4 separate regions of the Homo sapiens genome follow, and all the other regions are linked to region 1. Evidence: promoter capture Hi-C in 16 types of primary human blood cells and fetal thymus (Javierre and others, 2016). All regions are on one chromosome and are shown on one strand. Each heading gives the region's core, a stretch centred on a gene start or on the middle of the fragment in contact. The rest is flanking DNA. Distances are from core to core; before and after follow the strand shown. Region 1 holds the start of AS3MT (arsenite methyltransferase). Region 2 overlaps CNNM2 (cyclin and CBS domain divalent metal cation transport mediator 2). Region 3 overlaps NT5C2 (5'-nucleotidase, cytosolic II). Region 4 overlaps NT5C2 (5'-nucleotidase, cytosolic II).

Region 1 (3,435 bases), core at 125-2,624:
ATATCCTTTCACTTGGATCTCCCTGTTTCCTTACTGTCCTAATGAATAGAAATGATCGTTACAAGCTGGGCATGGTGGCTTGCACCTGTAGTCCCAGCTACTGGGGAGGCTGAGGAGGGAGGATGGCTTGAGGCCAGAGTTGAAGGATCCAGAGATGATTGCGCAGTGACGCTAAGCTTGGGCCACAGAGTTGAGACCCTGTCTCTAAAAATTTTTTTTTAATTTAAATTATAAAAAGAGAAATGCTTGTTACAACCACAAAGGGAAACAAGATATACACATATAATTGTGGAAGTAAAAATAAATAATTTAAAAATACTTTTGGGTGCTCGCTTCGGCAGCACATATAGTTGGAATGATAGAGAAGATTTGCATGGCCCCTGCGCAAGATGACATACAAATTCGTGAAGTGTTCCATATTTAAAAAAACAAAAAATACTTTTGGGCCTGGCACTGTGGCTCATGCCTGTAATCCAAACACTTTGGGAGGCTGAGGCGGGCGGATTGCTTGAACCCAGGAGTTGGAGACCAGCCTGGACAACATGGTGAAATCCCGTCTCTATAAAAAAATACAAAAATTAACCAGGTGTGGTGGTGCACGCCTGTAATCCAAGGTACTTGGGAGGCTGAGGCGGGAGGATCGCTTGAGCCAGGAGGTTGGGCCTGGGTAACAGAGACCGTCTCAAAAAAATTTAAAAATTAAAAAAAAAACTTTCTGCAAGATGAAGTGACAATACCTGGAAAATACATGTGACTTGACCAAAAATTACTATAGGTGAAAATAAATTTAGCAAAGTTGCTTTCCTAAATACAACCCAAAATAGACTGGGAACAGCTACATACTGTTAATGGTTCCCTCTATGTGACATTCTAGAAAAGGCAGAACTATAGGGAGGGAAAACATCTGTGGTTGCCCAGGAGCTAGGGGTGGGAAGAGGGAATTTACTACAAAGAGGCACGAAGAAACTTGTGGGCCAGAGCTATTTTGGTCTCCGTTTTGGTGATGTATATACGTTTGCCAGAGTTCACAGAACTGCACACTGAAGAAAGATGGATTTCACGGAATGTGAATTATATCTCAACAAACTTGACTTCAAAAAACAGATCGAGAAAAGATGATTCTATTCCCAAAAAGGGGGAGGGGGGAAGATCATTATATAGGTGAGTGTTCATTTAAATCAGAGTACGAGATTTATCCGTGAAAATCGCAGTGGAGCGAACAAGGGGGATGCTGATACCGACCTCCTGGTTGGAAAGCCTGTAGAGCAGCGCGGATGACAGTGGAACAGCGGGTCAGGCGGTGGGCGCCTGAGCGAGGGGCTAGAGCGGGATGGGCGGGCGGAGCAAGCCTGCCAGCCTGGGCGGGGCCTCGGCACAGGAGCTGGCTGCGGGAGCCCGCCGTCCTGAGTCGCAGGCCGAGGAGACAGTGAGTGCGCGCCCTGAGTCGCAGGCCGAGGAGACAGTGAGTGCGCGCCCTGAGTCGCAGGCCGAGGAGACAGTGAGTGCGCGCCCTGGGCGCCCCGCCCCAGCCCCCAGCCCCTTCCCTGGGCCCCCGCAAGGCGGGAACGCGAGCGCCTCCCCCGAGCTGTGTCTCGAGACCTTTGTCCTCCCCTCACCCCTCGGCCCGCTGCCTGCCCTTTACTGGCCCCCTCCCTCATGCCCGTCCCTCAGCACCCTCTCCTTTCAACTAACTTTCCCGCTCCCGACAGTGGCTGCACTTCGTGACGCTGAGATACAGAAGGACGTGCAGGTGAGAGCTGTAGGGCCTGGAATGGCCCAAGTGGAGCCTAGGCTAATGGAAGTCTGGCCTGGCCCGCACCCTGTCCCCCGGGACTCCTGGAGTCGGGGTAGGGCAGGGTCTAGGCTTCGACCTTTCCAGGGAACTGAGGTCGGCCAAGTGGAGGTGGAGGTGGTGACGGAGCCCTCGCGCTGCAGTCACAGCTCTTCTCCCTCTCTACCCCTCACTCCACTGTGGGACGCTGGGTCAGACCTACTACGGGCAGGTGCTGAAGAGATCGGCAGACCTCCAGACCAACGGCTGTGTCACCACAGCCAGGCCGGTCCCCAAGCACATCCGGGAAGCCTTGCAAAATGTACACGAAGAAGTAGCCCTAAGGTAGAGTGCCCTGTGCTGTCCCCAGGAAGACCCCAAACAGCAGTTTTCCCAAAAGATAATGATGCAGGTCACTAGGGAATTAACCCGTAGCCACCAACCCATCAGCTTGCCTTGTCTATTGTAAAAATCCTAAATCTCAGCACCCATCATCTTACTGCTCTAAGAACCTCCGATGAGTCTGGGCGCGCCAGTGAGCCTGTAGTCCCAAGTGCTTGGGAGGCTGAGGCAGAGGATCGCGTGAGCCCAGAAGTTACAGGCTGTAGTGTGCGATCCGGGATGTGAATAGCCACTGCACTCCAGCTTGGTCAACATAGCCAGATGCATCTCTAAAATAAATGCGTACTTTAAAAAAATTGCCTAAAAAAAAGAACCTCCAGCGTGAACACTCTGTAGTCCCTACCCATGCTCACAGAATACAGTCACACTCACTGGATCTGCCATTCAAGATATGCGCAGTTCAGCACCCACTAATCAACCTTGGCCCTTTTGACCCTTCCCTTCCTCACTCCATCAGCACTGCCTGCCCAGCCGGCAGTCACCAATTTGGAAGGTCTTCCCTTTTCTTTTTCCTTCCCAACCCTGCGCATCCAGCACCACGCTGCTGTCCCACCTACTGCATGGAGCCTTCTCTAATCCTTGAGCGGCCTCTTCCCCAAACTGCCACAGCACTCTGTCACTCGGTCTGTCCGTAAATCACGGGAAGTGTTTTCTGTGCACGATGTTTTATCTCGCCTCTCAAATACACCTACGCGGCGGGGAGCGGTGGCTCACGTCCGTCATCCCAGAACTTGGGAGGCCAAGGCAGGTAGATCACTTGAGGTCAGAAGTTCAAGACCGACCTGGTCAACATAGTGAAACCCTGTCTCTACTGAAAATACAAAAATTAGCTGGGTGTAGTGGGGCACGCCTGTAGTCCCAGCTACTTGGGAGGCTGAGGGAGGAGAATCACTTGAACGTGGAAGGCGGAGGTCGCAGTGAGCGGAGATTGTGCCACTGCACTCCAGCCTGGGCAACAGAGAAAAACTCAGTCAAAACAAAACAAAACAAAAAAAAGGCCGGGGGTGGTGGCTTATGTCTGTAATCCCAGCACTTTGGGAGGCCGAGGCGGGAGGATCACGAGGCCAGGAGATCGAGACCATCCTGGCTATCATGGTGAAACCCCGTCTCTACTAAAAATACAAAAATATTATCCGGGTGTGGCGGCACGCGCCTGTAGTTCCGGCTGCTGGGGAGGCTGAGGCAGGAGAACGGCGTGAACCCGGGAGGCGGAGCTTGCAGTGAGCTGAGTTCGAGCCACTGCACTCCAGCCTGGGTGACAG
Region 2 (3,759 bases), core at 928-3,427, 210 kb after region 1:
GGAAGGCCTCTGCCATTCATCTCTACAAAGCCAGTGGGGTCCGGCAGAGAAAGACCGTGGAATAGCTGCGGTCTCGATGTGGCTGCTCTTTGGCACCTCCGCTGGACTGCCCTCCCGCGGCGGTGACCTTTTCAAGTGTGGAAGGGAGTGGGTCGAGTGGACCAGATGCAGACCCCTGAGTTCTGGATACTGATGGGAGGCCTCACCCTCCTTTACGGGGCCTCTCTGGGTGGGACAGAGCCTCACCTGCTCCTGAGCAGCCACTGGTGCCCCACGGTTCCTCTGAAACTAAATCCCTAGCATCCAGATAGTCCTGGGACACTCTGCCTGCTCTGTAAATGAGGAGGGCTTTTCTCCTGCTGTTTGGAGGTTCCGTCCCTTCACTGCTTGTCCCATATGCGTCAGGCAAATTCAAAATCATACATTTAAACTCTTAGGAAAACAAAATCTTAAGACTTACACAGATATCGGGGTGCTAATCAACTGGCTTAAATCTTGATTCTTACATAATTTGAACTTGAAAGGTTACATTGAACTCTGTTCTTTCCTCCCTCCTCACCTCACTCCCTGCAGGGAGTTCAATGCCATGTTGAAGTGGTTGGCATCCCCAAGTGGGAGGGAGTGGGGCATCTTACCATCTTCTAATGTGACTTCAAGGAACAGTGCAAATGTTGAATGCAGAGCTTCACACTAATACGGAACAGTAACTGTGAGTATATTTACCTGTGCTGTCGTCAGCACTGTACACTAAAGGACCAGCTTTTCCAAGCCTAGGAAAATAATGGTAGATACAAATAGAAATACATTTTCCCTAGGAAATAGAGCAATAGGAATTTGAGCTAAGCAGGTACCATGAACTTCTGCCCTCAAATTCTCTCTTTGGGTTGAGGAGCAGACCTGTATAGGCCCTGGCTGATCAAGTCTGTGTCCTGCCTAGTAAAAACACACAACCACCTCTGTCATCTGAAGGCCAGCCGGGGATCTGTAGCCATCCTCGCCTTGCCTAGGCCCAGGAAGGTGAGGTCTCCTGGGCAACCAGAGTTGCCCCTGTGGTTCCCCAGGGGTGATCCTAGGCAGATGACTCACCCGGGCTGGCACAGGAAGGTGCTCACCTTGTTCTCTGGGGCTCCAAGCAAGAGCAGGCCAGGGAGGGCTGGCTTTGCACGCTATGTAGCATGACCCAAGCTCCCTGGTGGCATGGGAAAAACTCCCCTCTGCTTTTGAGCCCAGATATGGGCTTTTCTTTGCAAAGGGTTGAGGAGAAATACAAGACTGAGCTGGTAGGTTAGGGTCCAGAAGGCCTCTGAGGTGCCATTGCTTACTTCCTTACTGAGGAAACTGGCTCTTGTCCTGGGCCATGTAGTTCCATTCTGGGCTCTAGGCTAGTGGTGCTTCTGTCCATCAAGGGTATCTGGGTGAGTTGTAGGTTAACCCAGAATTTAGTAGGGATATAGGGGTTTGAATAGGAAAGTGATCTGGGGATTCAGAAATTTTTCTGATGTATCAATGAGCAACTTCTCAGTGGATTTTTATACCTCAGGGTCATTTGCAAATCTTTATCTTTTCCTATTTCTTAGGTGTTCAAGTTGGTTAATAGGAGAGAGACGTTCAGAGACTTCTAAGTTGAGGTTCATTTGCCTCCGTTTGAGGGGTGAGTGGTGCACCAATAGCTTGCTGCTGTTACTTAGCAAGGCTGTGACAAGTAGGCCTTCCTCCTCTAGCACTTGCAAGCTTTCTGTCTGCGATCACGGTTTACTTGCCCATTTCCCTTTTGCTACCTTCTTTCCTATCTGGAGATTCATATTCTAGAGTCCCTGGTCAACCCTACGGATGCGAAGAAGAGATGGCAGTTCACAGCAACTGCATAGAGTAGGGAGCAGCTTTCCTCCCACCATCCTAGGCTGGGGACCTTCTTTGCTTCTCACACCACTGTGGTTGGCTCAGCTCAAGTAAGCACGTTCTCTCTGTATGCTAGAGCTACTGACATCATCTCTACTAGAATTGTTTTAAATATCTTTTGATGGGAAATACCAGGTTGAACTTCAAGCATCATGGAAACAAAGGTTCTAGCTGCAAGAGAGTAAAGTTCTAGGTGTTTGTATGCCAAGGTTTATATGTACACAGATCCAACACATACTGTAAGAAAGACTTGAGTACACAAGGTTTTCAGGTTTTAATGCCCATTGGGACCGTGAACAAATGAGAAGAATGGGAGCATTGTCTTGCCTCGCTTGGAAGGACGCCTTCCGGCATCTGATCCACATGGATTCACTTTTAGGATGCAGTTCTTTGGGGGCCAGATTTGGCTGCAGATTCACCCTGAAGAGAACTATCCAATGGGCCTGGTGGGGCTTGGGTGCCTGCCTTTTTTGTTGGAGGCTCAGACTTCTAGAGCAGAGCAAAGTTGGGAAGAATGAGGTCTTAGGATTCTCATTCCCCAGAGAGCCCCAGCCTCGCTTCTGATCATTACTCCCCAAGTCTGAATCTACTGTGAAGGTGAAGTTATCAATTTTTTCTTGTTTGAGTCCTTTAAACCCACAAATGTATATGCTTTATTTTATATTATTTATTATGTACATATGCCTGTTAGTACTTCGTCTGTGACTAGGACAAGGTCTGTCTTGAAGCTTCCTCATCCATGGATCCTAGGGTTCTGCTGTCCTTTAAGGCGGGTGAGAGGGTAGTGTTGTTTTTTATAAACAGGTTGCTGCTTTTATGTTGGCCCTAGCATCCCCAGCCCCTTTAGTTGGGCCCACCTGTATTCCTTATGACCAGTGTTTTGGATGAGGATGGAGGCAGGTCTCCTACCTTGTGGGCAGGGCCTCTCAAGTACCTCCATGAAATATTTCCAAGGTGGTTTCTTGGTGACAGGCTCTCTTCCCCTATGTAGGGTACAGTACAGCTGTGAGTCCACGGCCTCCCTCCTCCCAAGGCAGGTCACTTGCCTGGCCCCACAGTGATAATGGTTTCTTCCACTTACCTTAGATTGCATAATCCATCTTTCTGGATAATGGAAGCTGCCTGCCTATCTGGGCTCTTAATATGCCTTTTCTTGGTTTTGAGGCCCAGTGCCAACATTGCCTTGGCCCTCAAGTAAGACCCTGCTTTGTGTCTGACTTTGATCCTCCTCAGCCTTTATTCACTGTATCATAGTGTACAGGTCATGCATTTGAGCAGTGAAGTTTTCTGAACACAGTATTCAGAGCTGTGTACATAAACCTAAATAAGCACAAATGACATGTATAGGATTGAGCTGATTGTCTTAATGAATGCATTTTATAATTCAAATGATGTAGATGTACAGTCTCTCCTATTTATTTTGTACCAATTTATTTGTAAATTTTGTGATTGTTTTACAAGGTTTTTGTTTATTTCTATTCTATTTAGATAAATGATGTTCTGTTCACCCTGCTAGCAGATGTGTGTTCCCTCTTCCCTTTCATCTGTGCAACACCAACCATGCCATTGTATTCAGCTTGGCTGAACCAACTGCCCTACCCACTTGCCTGGCTTTGCTGGTGGGAAAGCTGGGACTGGATCTCAGCATGACAACATAGAAGAGCATCTTCTTTGGACAGTGTAAAGTCTTAAGAGAAGTGGGTACTAGTTCTGTGCCTCCAAGTCACAGCCTGGTACAGCCAATCCTAGGGGGAAGGTGTCCTTCTTTGCAAGGATTATAATCTGTTCTCCATCAGTTACTCTCTACATAAGAACATTCGGAGTATCCAGTCAAATTGCCCCAGACATTGGCTGCTCAGT
Region 3 (3,295 bases), core at 311-2,810, 230 kb after region 1:
AGTGTTCAATGGAATACAGTAATTGTGAACAAATACAAAGTGATAGAAGAATATATTGAATGGAAGCTAAAAGGCCAAAGTTCCAAAAATGTCAGGTTTTTTTATTTATCACTTTTTAGAAACAGGTTGAAGAAACATTTAAAACTTAAAATTGGTCATTTAGGTTCTTTCCACCCTGACTTTCCTGACACTGTCCCTAAGTACAAAGGTACTGTCCATTTTTTTATTTAGTTCAGTGACTCAGCTTTCCACCAAATTTAGTGTCTTCAAGTGGATAAAGCCCAAAGAGGATAAGAAGTTAGCCAACTCTGGTATATAGATGGCTAAACTTTCAGTATTGGCTATATAATTCTCCCTAAAGGGAGAGGATAACTTGTTTAAGACTTACGCAAAATTTTACTTCTGATAAGATACACAGTATTTATTCCTTAATCAAATCTTGCCTGGCCTGGGAATGAAATTAAATTACCATCCCTGAATGGCTCCTGGGTAGCTGCTGTGAAATGAGTTGGGGGGTTTTAGTGTAATTCTGCTTGGACAGATAATCATCACACAAACCTCCCACTCAGTTGTCACAATTAGCACCTCTGCTGGCCGTCTTCATTCCCAGGAGAAGCCAATCAGAAGTGGTGGCTGCAGCACACTGGCAAGGAGAGGGGCCGTGTGGGAGGTGAGAGCCTGCATGGAGCTGCTGGTGCTGTCCCATCTCTCAGGTTGGCAATGTGGCATCTCTCACTAGCACTAAATTCACTTTAGAAAAGCAGAAAAGACCTACAATGGCCAGTTCTCTAAAACCCTGTGCATTAATTTTAAAAATCAATTGGAAAAAAATAATTATAGTATATACATACCTGGTATATCTGGGACAATTAGTAAAAAAATCTACTAGGCAGGCCAACAGGTAGGTCTCTGAAAAATGAAGAACAGATATTCATAAGCTATAATGAAATAATTCAAACTTATTTCATTACCTCCCTTGAATACAGACTAATGGTCACAGAAGGGAAAGCATCAGTATAAATAAGCATAGAATGAATCTACCTGGTAGGTTGAATAGTGTGTTCAGAATGTAAAATCTTTCAGTATCATCTCGCTGGATAAATTTATTTGGATACTGTTCTCTAGTTTCTGGTCTGAAAGAAAAATTTAAAAATTAACTGATTTTTAAAATAACATTATAATAATTGGGAAATAGCATTATTCAAAAATTAACTCAAATATTTTGATGGCTATGTGCAAGACAGAATTCCGAATATTACGCATGGATAGCTATGAAGATGAACGAGTTCAGGTTCCAGCTCTTTATTTTTTTTAATTTTAATTTTTTTTTTTTTTTAAGACAGTCTTGCTATTTTAAGTCCAGGCTGGACTCAAACTCCTGAAGATTGCTCAAGCAATCTTCCCACCTCAGCCTCCCAAGTAGCTGGGATTACAGGTGTGATGTCCAGCTTAGGTTCCAGCTCTTAAAAGAGTTGTCAGTGTGGTGGGCGAGGTGGGTCACATACACATATAATTATAAGGTAAAAAATCACAACTACTACAAGAAAGGTGCAAACATTTATGAGAAAACCAAAGAAGGGAACACCATTTCAACTTAAGAGGTAGAGAGAAGCAAATGTGAGGACTAAGGAGAGGAAAATCTAGGAAGGATTCATGCACGTGCTGGTATATGAGCTGGGCCTTAAAGGCTAGGTGGACCAGTTGTGAAACTAGTCCAACTTGGGTAGAGAAAGGGGAGCAGAGAAAAATTAAGCTAGAAAGATGGGTTGAGGCAGATTAAGCTACTGTTTCTACACCATTTAGGGGCAAGAGGGTACTACTGACAGTTTTAAAGCAGAGGATAATCCCATCGGGGCTGAGTTGTAAAACAAAATTAAATTAGTGGCTGTTTTAGGATAAACTGGGGAAAGACAATGTGATGCACTCCAACAATGGCCACAAATTCTTCCTGTCTCTTTGTGATGCAATTTTGTGGCTCCTCCCATTAGAACTCAGTCTATTTCTCTATCCTTGAATATAGGCTTGTATAGCAGCAAATGGGATCCAAGCAGAGACCTAGAAAAACATGTGTGTATTGAGGCTTAATCTCTCTTGCAGCACTTGGAACCATGGACTACTATGTGCATGACAGTGAGATAGTCTGCTGGAGGATAGAAGGCTACATGTAGAAATGAAGCACTCGGCCAACAGCCTGTGAATGCCAGACATGTGCATGAGGCCATTGTAGATCAGATGCCAGGTCACCCACCAGCTAACCACAGACATGTGAAAGAGCATAGAGAGATCAGCTGTGCAACCCAGAATCACCCAGTTGACTCTCAGAATTTTTTCTTTTTTCTTTTTTTTTTTTTGAGACAGAGTCTCACTCTGTCGGCCAGGCTGGAGTGCAGTGGCGTGATCTCAGCTCACTCATATATTCAAGAGAGATTACCAAGGTAAAATAAGACCCGGCAAACTGAGCAGATTTGGCTGGGGGAACATTAAAGAGTCAAAGATGATGATGTCCATGCTAAGGTGTCTCTGAGAGGTGGTTGGTACGATGAACAGAAATATGAAAACTAGATAAGAAGTGATGTGAGAGTAGTTCTATTTTAGTGATACTAAGTTTGAAGTAAACTGATTTTTATTAGGCAATTAGAAACAAAGGTCAAGAACTTAAAAGAGATTCAGCCTTGAGAGATAACTGAGATCATCTACGTACAGATACTAGATGGAATCATGAAAAGTATTAGAGGAGATGAAACCACTTAGTGTGCAGAGAAGGAAGAGAAGAGACAGAACAGAACCATGAAGAAAATTCAAGGTTTAAAAGAAAAAAGCCAGTGAAGCAGAATTTGTTAAAGATGCAAAAACACTTCTAGAAGAAAACATTTCAGAGAAACTCAAAGGGAAAAATACTAAAATATAAAAATGCACAGTTCTGACAGTGAATACATGGAGATTAACAATGTAAATAAAGGAAATCAAATTTAAAGCTCACACTCAGAGTGACCTGGATTAATTCCTGCCTGGGTTTGTTAACTACAAATGGCATAAACTCTAGTTAGACATATAAAAATCACATTAGCTCCCTGTCTTAAGTCACTCTTCTGAGATGAGAGTTCCCAATAATGAATAACTTTGTAGAGTATCTTATCTTCTAGCTTTCCAAGATTTTCTTTAATAAAAGTAAGGTGGAAGGTAACAGTAAAAATATACTTTCTTCAGTTAGATTTAATAAGCTGACACTGTCTCCTTAGATACAATATACTTCCCTATTCCCTCCATCATTAAAGAAAAATTCCTTTACATAAAG
Region 4 (3,489 bases), core at 79-2,578, 250 kb after region 1:
CATATTTCTTTTCCTTTTTTTTTTTTTTTGGATAGGTCTCATTCTGTAGCCCAGGCTGAAGTGCAGTGGCACAATCTCAGCTCACTGCAACCTCCGCCTCCCAGGATCAAGCAATTCTCCCACCTCAGCCTCCAGAGTAGCTGGGATTACAGACGTGCACCACGCTCAACTAATTTTTGCATTTTTTGTAGAGATGCGGTTTTGTTATGTTGCTCAGGCTGGTCCTGGACTCCTAGGTGCAAGCAATCCATCTGCCTCGGCCTCCCAAAGTGCTGGCATTAATTACAGGAATAAGCCACCATGCCTGGACAAAATCATCACATTTCATCTTCACAAATCTCCTTTAGGGGTTGAGTCCTTATGATATATTCTGATTAGATTTTTACTTTGTTTAGTTTTATGAATGTTTTCTAATTTATTTTTATTAATTTTATTAACCACAATTATCTTTTTTGTTTGTTTGTTTTTTAAGGGATCATCTCTTTTTGGAGAGGGAATTTTTTTTTTCTTTTTATCTGTTACCCTAGTTTAAATACTCAGCTTATTCTCTTATTCTACCCTATTTGTGGGGGAGGGCAAGAGTCCAAAAACTCTTAAGAAAAAAGATCACTAAGGGAGATCATGAATGCATTTTTAAGATGTAGTAAGTCAAACTACATCTATTTTTCTGTTCTTTAATTTTCAGTTGTATGCTTTTGATCCATTCACAAACTGATAAATCTCTCAAGAATAAGTCAGAGGGCCGGGCACAGTGGCTCACACCTGTAATCCCAGTACTTTGGGAAGCCAAGATGGGTGGATCACCTGAGATGGGGAGTTCAAGACCAGCCTGACCAACATGGAGAAACCCCATCTCTACTAAAAATACAAAATTAGCCAGGCATGGTGGCACATGCCTGAAATCCCAGCTACTCAGGAGGCTGAGGCAGGAGAATCATTTGAATCCAGGAGGCAGAGGTTGCGGTGAGCTGAGATCGCGCCATTGTACTCCAGCCTGGGCAACAAGAGCAAAATTTTGTCTCCAAAAAAAAGTCAGAGGGTATATACAGGTTGGTAGCTTTCACTGACTTAGAAGTGCTCATTCCCTCACACAAATATCTCTTGCACATATAATCTGGAAGCCAGTGGGATGAGGTAATGCACAAGTTCTATATTTTCCAAGTTGTGAGGAGGATGCCCTGAGTATTATTTCATGACCTAGGACAATGAGAATTTCTTTGGTCTTTTTGATAAAGGTTACCTTTCTTGTTTTGTACCAAAGACTTTTCAACAAATACATTCCTTTCAGAGACCTCTCGTCACAGTAAGAACTCCAAATAGATGCAACCAGTTTACACGCTATCAATAGTAAGTTCAGCTCAGCTAATCTTCCATCTTAATTCATCAAAGAGTTTCATCGTTCTTTAAGAAGAAATGCTAAAGCACAGACTTTTACATTGTCATTGGTTTCATTAAACAAAAAAAAAGGCGTGGCCAGTTGCAGTCTCATGCCTGTAATCCCAGCACTCTGGAAGGCTGAGGCTGGTGGACTGCTTGAGTCCAGGAATTAGAGACCAGCCTGGGCAACATGGTGAAACCCCATTTCTACAAAAAATAAAAAAATTAGCCAGGCATGATGGCACGAGCCTATAGTCCCAGCTACTTGGGAGGCTGAAATGGGAGAATCACTTGAGCCTGGGAGGCAGAGGTTGCAGTGAGCTGAGATCACACCACTGCACTCCAGCCTGGATGACAGTGTGAGACCCTGTTTCAAAAAAAAAAAAGGAAGAAAAGAAAAGAAGTAAACTCAAAATGGATCAAAGACCTAAATGTAGGAGTTAAAACTATAAAACTCTTAGAAGAAAACATGGCAGAAAATCTTCCTTATATTGGATTTGGGAATGATTTCACAGCTATGACAGCAAAAAGCACTGGCAACAAAAGAAAAAAACAGATAAACTGGACTTCAAAATTAAAAACTTTTGTGCCTCAAAAGCCATGATCAAGAGAGGGAAAAGAAAACCCACAGAATGAGAGACAATATTTGCAAATTGTGTATCTGATGAGGGATTAATATCCAGAATATATAAAGATTAATATGCAGAATGTGTAACTCCACAGTTATTTTAAAAACCTAATTTTAAAAAACTGATATTTCTCCAAAGAAGTTATATAACTGACTAAATAAACACATGAAATGATGCTTAATATCACCAGCCATTAGAGAAACATGAAATCAAAACCATAAGATACCGTAACTTCACACCCAGTAGAATGAGTATTATCAAACAACAACAAAAAACCTGAAAATAAGTATTGCCAAGATGTGAAGAAACTGGAACTCTCATTCATGTATTGCTGGTGGGGATGTAAGATGTTACAGCCACTATAGAGAACAGTTTGGCAGTTCTTTAAAAAGCTAAACATAGATTTACGTTATGATCCAGCAATTCCATTCCTGGGTATATACCCAAAACAACTGAAAGCAGGAAGCAGGAACTCAAACAGATGCTTAAATACCAATGTTCACAGCAGCCTATTCATAATAGCCAAAAGGTGGAGACAATCCCCATGTCCATCAACAGATGAACAGATAAACAAATGTATATACCTACAGTAGAATATTATTCAGTCTCAAAAAGTAATATATGCTATAACATGGACAAATTTAAAAAATATGCTAAAAGAAATAAGCCAGACACAAAACAAGTATTGTATAATTTCACTTTTATGAAATACCTATAACAGACAAATTCATAGAGACAAAATAAATTAGAGGTTACTAGCAACTGAGGGGTGGAGGGAATGGGGAGTTATTGCTTAATGGGTATGGAGTTTCTGTTTGGGATGATGAAAAAGTTCTGGAAATGGATAGTGGTGAGCATTGTGCAACTTTGTGAATGTGCTTAATGCCATTGAATTGTATACTTGAAAATGGTTTAAAATGGTAATATTATATTCTATATATTTTACCATAAATTTTTTTAATGCTGGACTTGAGATGCCTGTAGTGACAATACACCAATACTGCATAATATTTCTTGCTTTAAATAGTTTTTCTCACTCATTTAAGCACCTCCAATGCCAGTAAGTTTGGTGAGGATATACAATTGCTGACAGAAACATGATGAGGGCCCTGGACTCTAGTCCAAGTAAACACACCATCCAAAAAATGTTCACTTAAATGTCAAGTGAGTTGAGTCCATTCCAATAACAATAAAACAAGATCAGAGTGCATCTACTATGTTCGAGAGGACAGGGATCAAAGGTCCTGAGATGCCTCTGCTAGTAGCAAGATAATGCTCTGATTTACTGACATCACAGGCTAGTTTCTCTTAATTTCTTCCCCGGTACTCTTAACAGCTTTATTCATCACCTCTCCCACACTTGAGGTTTGTTAATGCCAAGTGCTTAGGTTTGGGATAACTCCCCAGAGGCTAATGATATGGCCTAGAAAGGAGGGGAGGGCAGAAAAATTCAAAAGAGAGGGACCTAAAATGTATTTCCAAT

What was found. Contacts are between HindIII fragments. The CHiCAGO score rates a contact against its expected background, and 5 or more counts as called.
Region 2: a fragment that was not itself captured here is called in contact with the fragment with the promoter of AS3MT in region 1 in 1 of 17 cell types (erythroblasts); the score reaches 8.2 in erythroblasts.
Region 3: a contact is called between a fragment that was not itself captured here and the fragment with the promoter of AS3MT in region 1, in 1 of 17 cell types (erythroblasts). The highest score is 9.0, in erythroblasts.
Region 4: a contact is called between a fragment that was not itself captured here and the fragment with the promoter of AS3MT in region 1, in 1 of 17 cell types (erythroblasts). The highest score is 5.2, in erythroblasts.

Annotation. Positions count from the first base shown.
Region 1 is chr10:102,868,096-102,871,530 of GRCh38, forward strand. AS3MT (arsenite methyltransferase) reads left to right here and starts at 1,375. Exons shown (of 11, transcript NM_020682.4): 1 at 1,375-1,498; 2 at 1,710-1,750; 3 at 1,989-2,116. The coding sequence starts at 1,498. BORCS7-ASMT (BORCS7-ASMT readthrough (NMD candidate)) reads left to right here. Exons shown (of 15, transcript NR_037644.1): 6 at 1,710-1,750; 7 at 1,989-2,116. It also overlaps the pseudogene LOC124902567. The HindIII fragment of the contact is 4,429 bases long and covers 175-3,435 here.
Region 2 is chr10:103,079,980-103,083,738 of GRCh38, forward strand. It overlaps CNNM2 (cyclin and CBS domain divalent metal cation transport mediator 2), which reads left to right. Exons shown (of 8, transcript NM_017649.5): 8 at 1-3,759. Among named protein-coding and RNA genes, the nearest start is that of NT5C2, 110 kb to the right of the region's middle. RefSeq lists an enhancer at 3,693-3,759. The HindIII fragment of the contact is 896 bases long and covers 1,730-2,625 here.
Region 3 is chr10:103,100,194-103,103,488 of GRCh38, forward strand. NT5C2 (5'-nucleotidase, cytosolic II) reads right to left here. Exons shown (of 19, transcript NM_001351169.2): 7 at 1,042-1,133; 8 at 852-909. Among named protein-coding and RNA genes, the nearest start is that of NT5C2, 91 kb to the right of the region's middle. The HindIII fragment of the contact is 6,803 bases long and covers 1-3,295 here.
Region 4 is chr10:103,118,348-103,121,836 of GRCh38, forward strand. The region is part of intron 4 of NT5C2 (5'-nucleotidase, cytosolic II); the gene reads right to left. Among named protein-coding and RNA genes, the nearest start is that of NT5C2, 73 kb to the right of the region's middle. The HindIII fragment of the contact is 5,128 bases long and covers 1-3,489 here.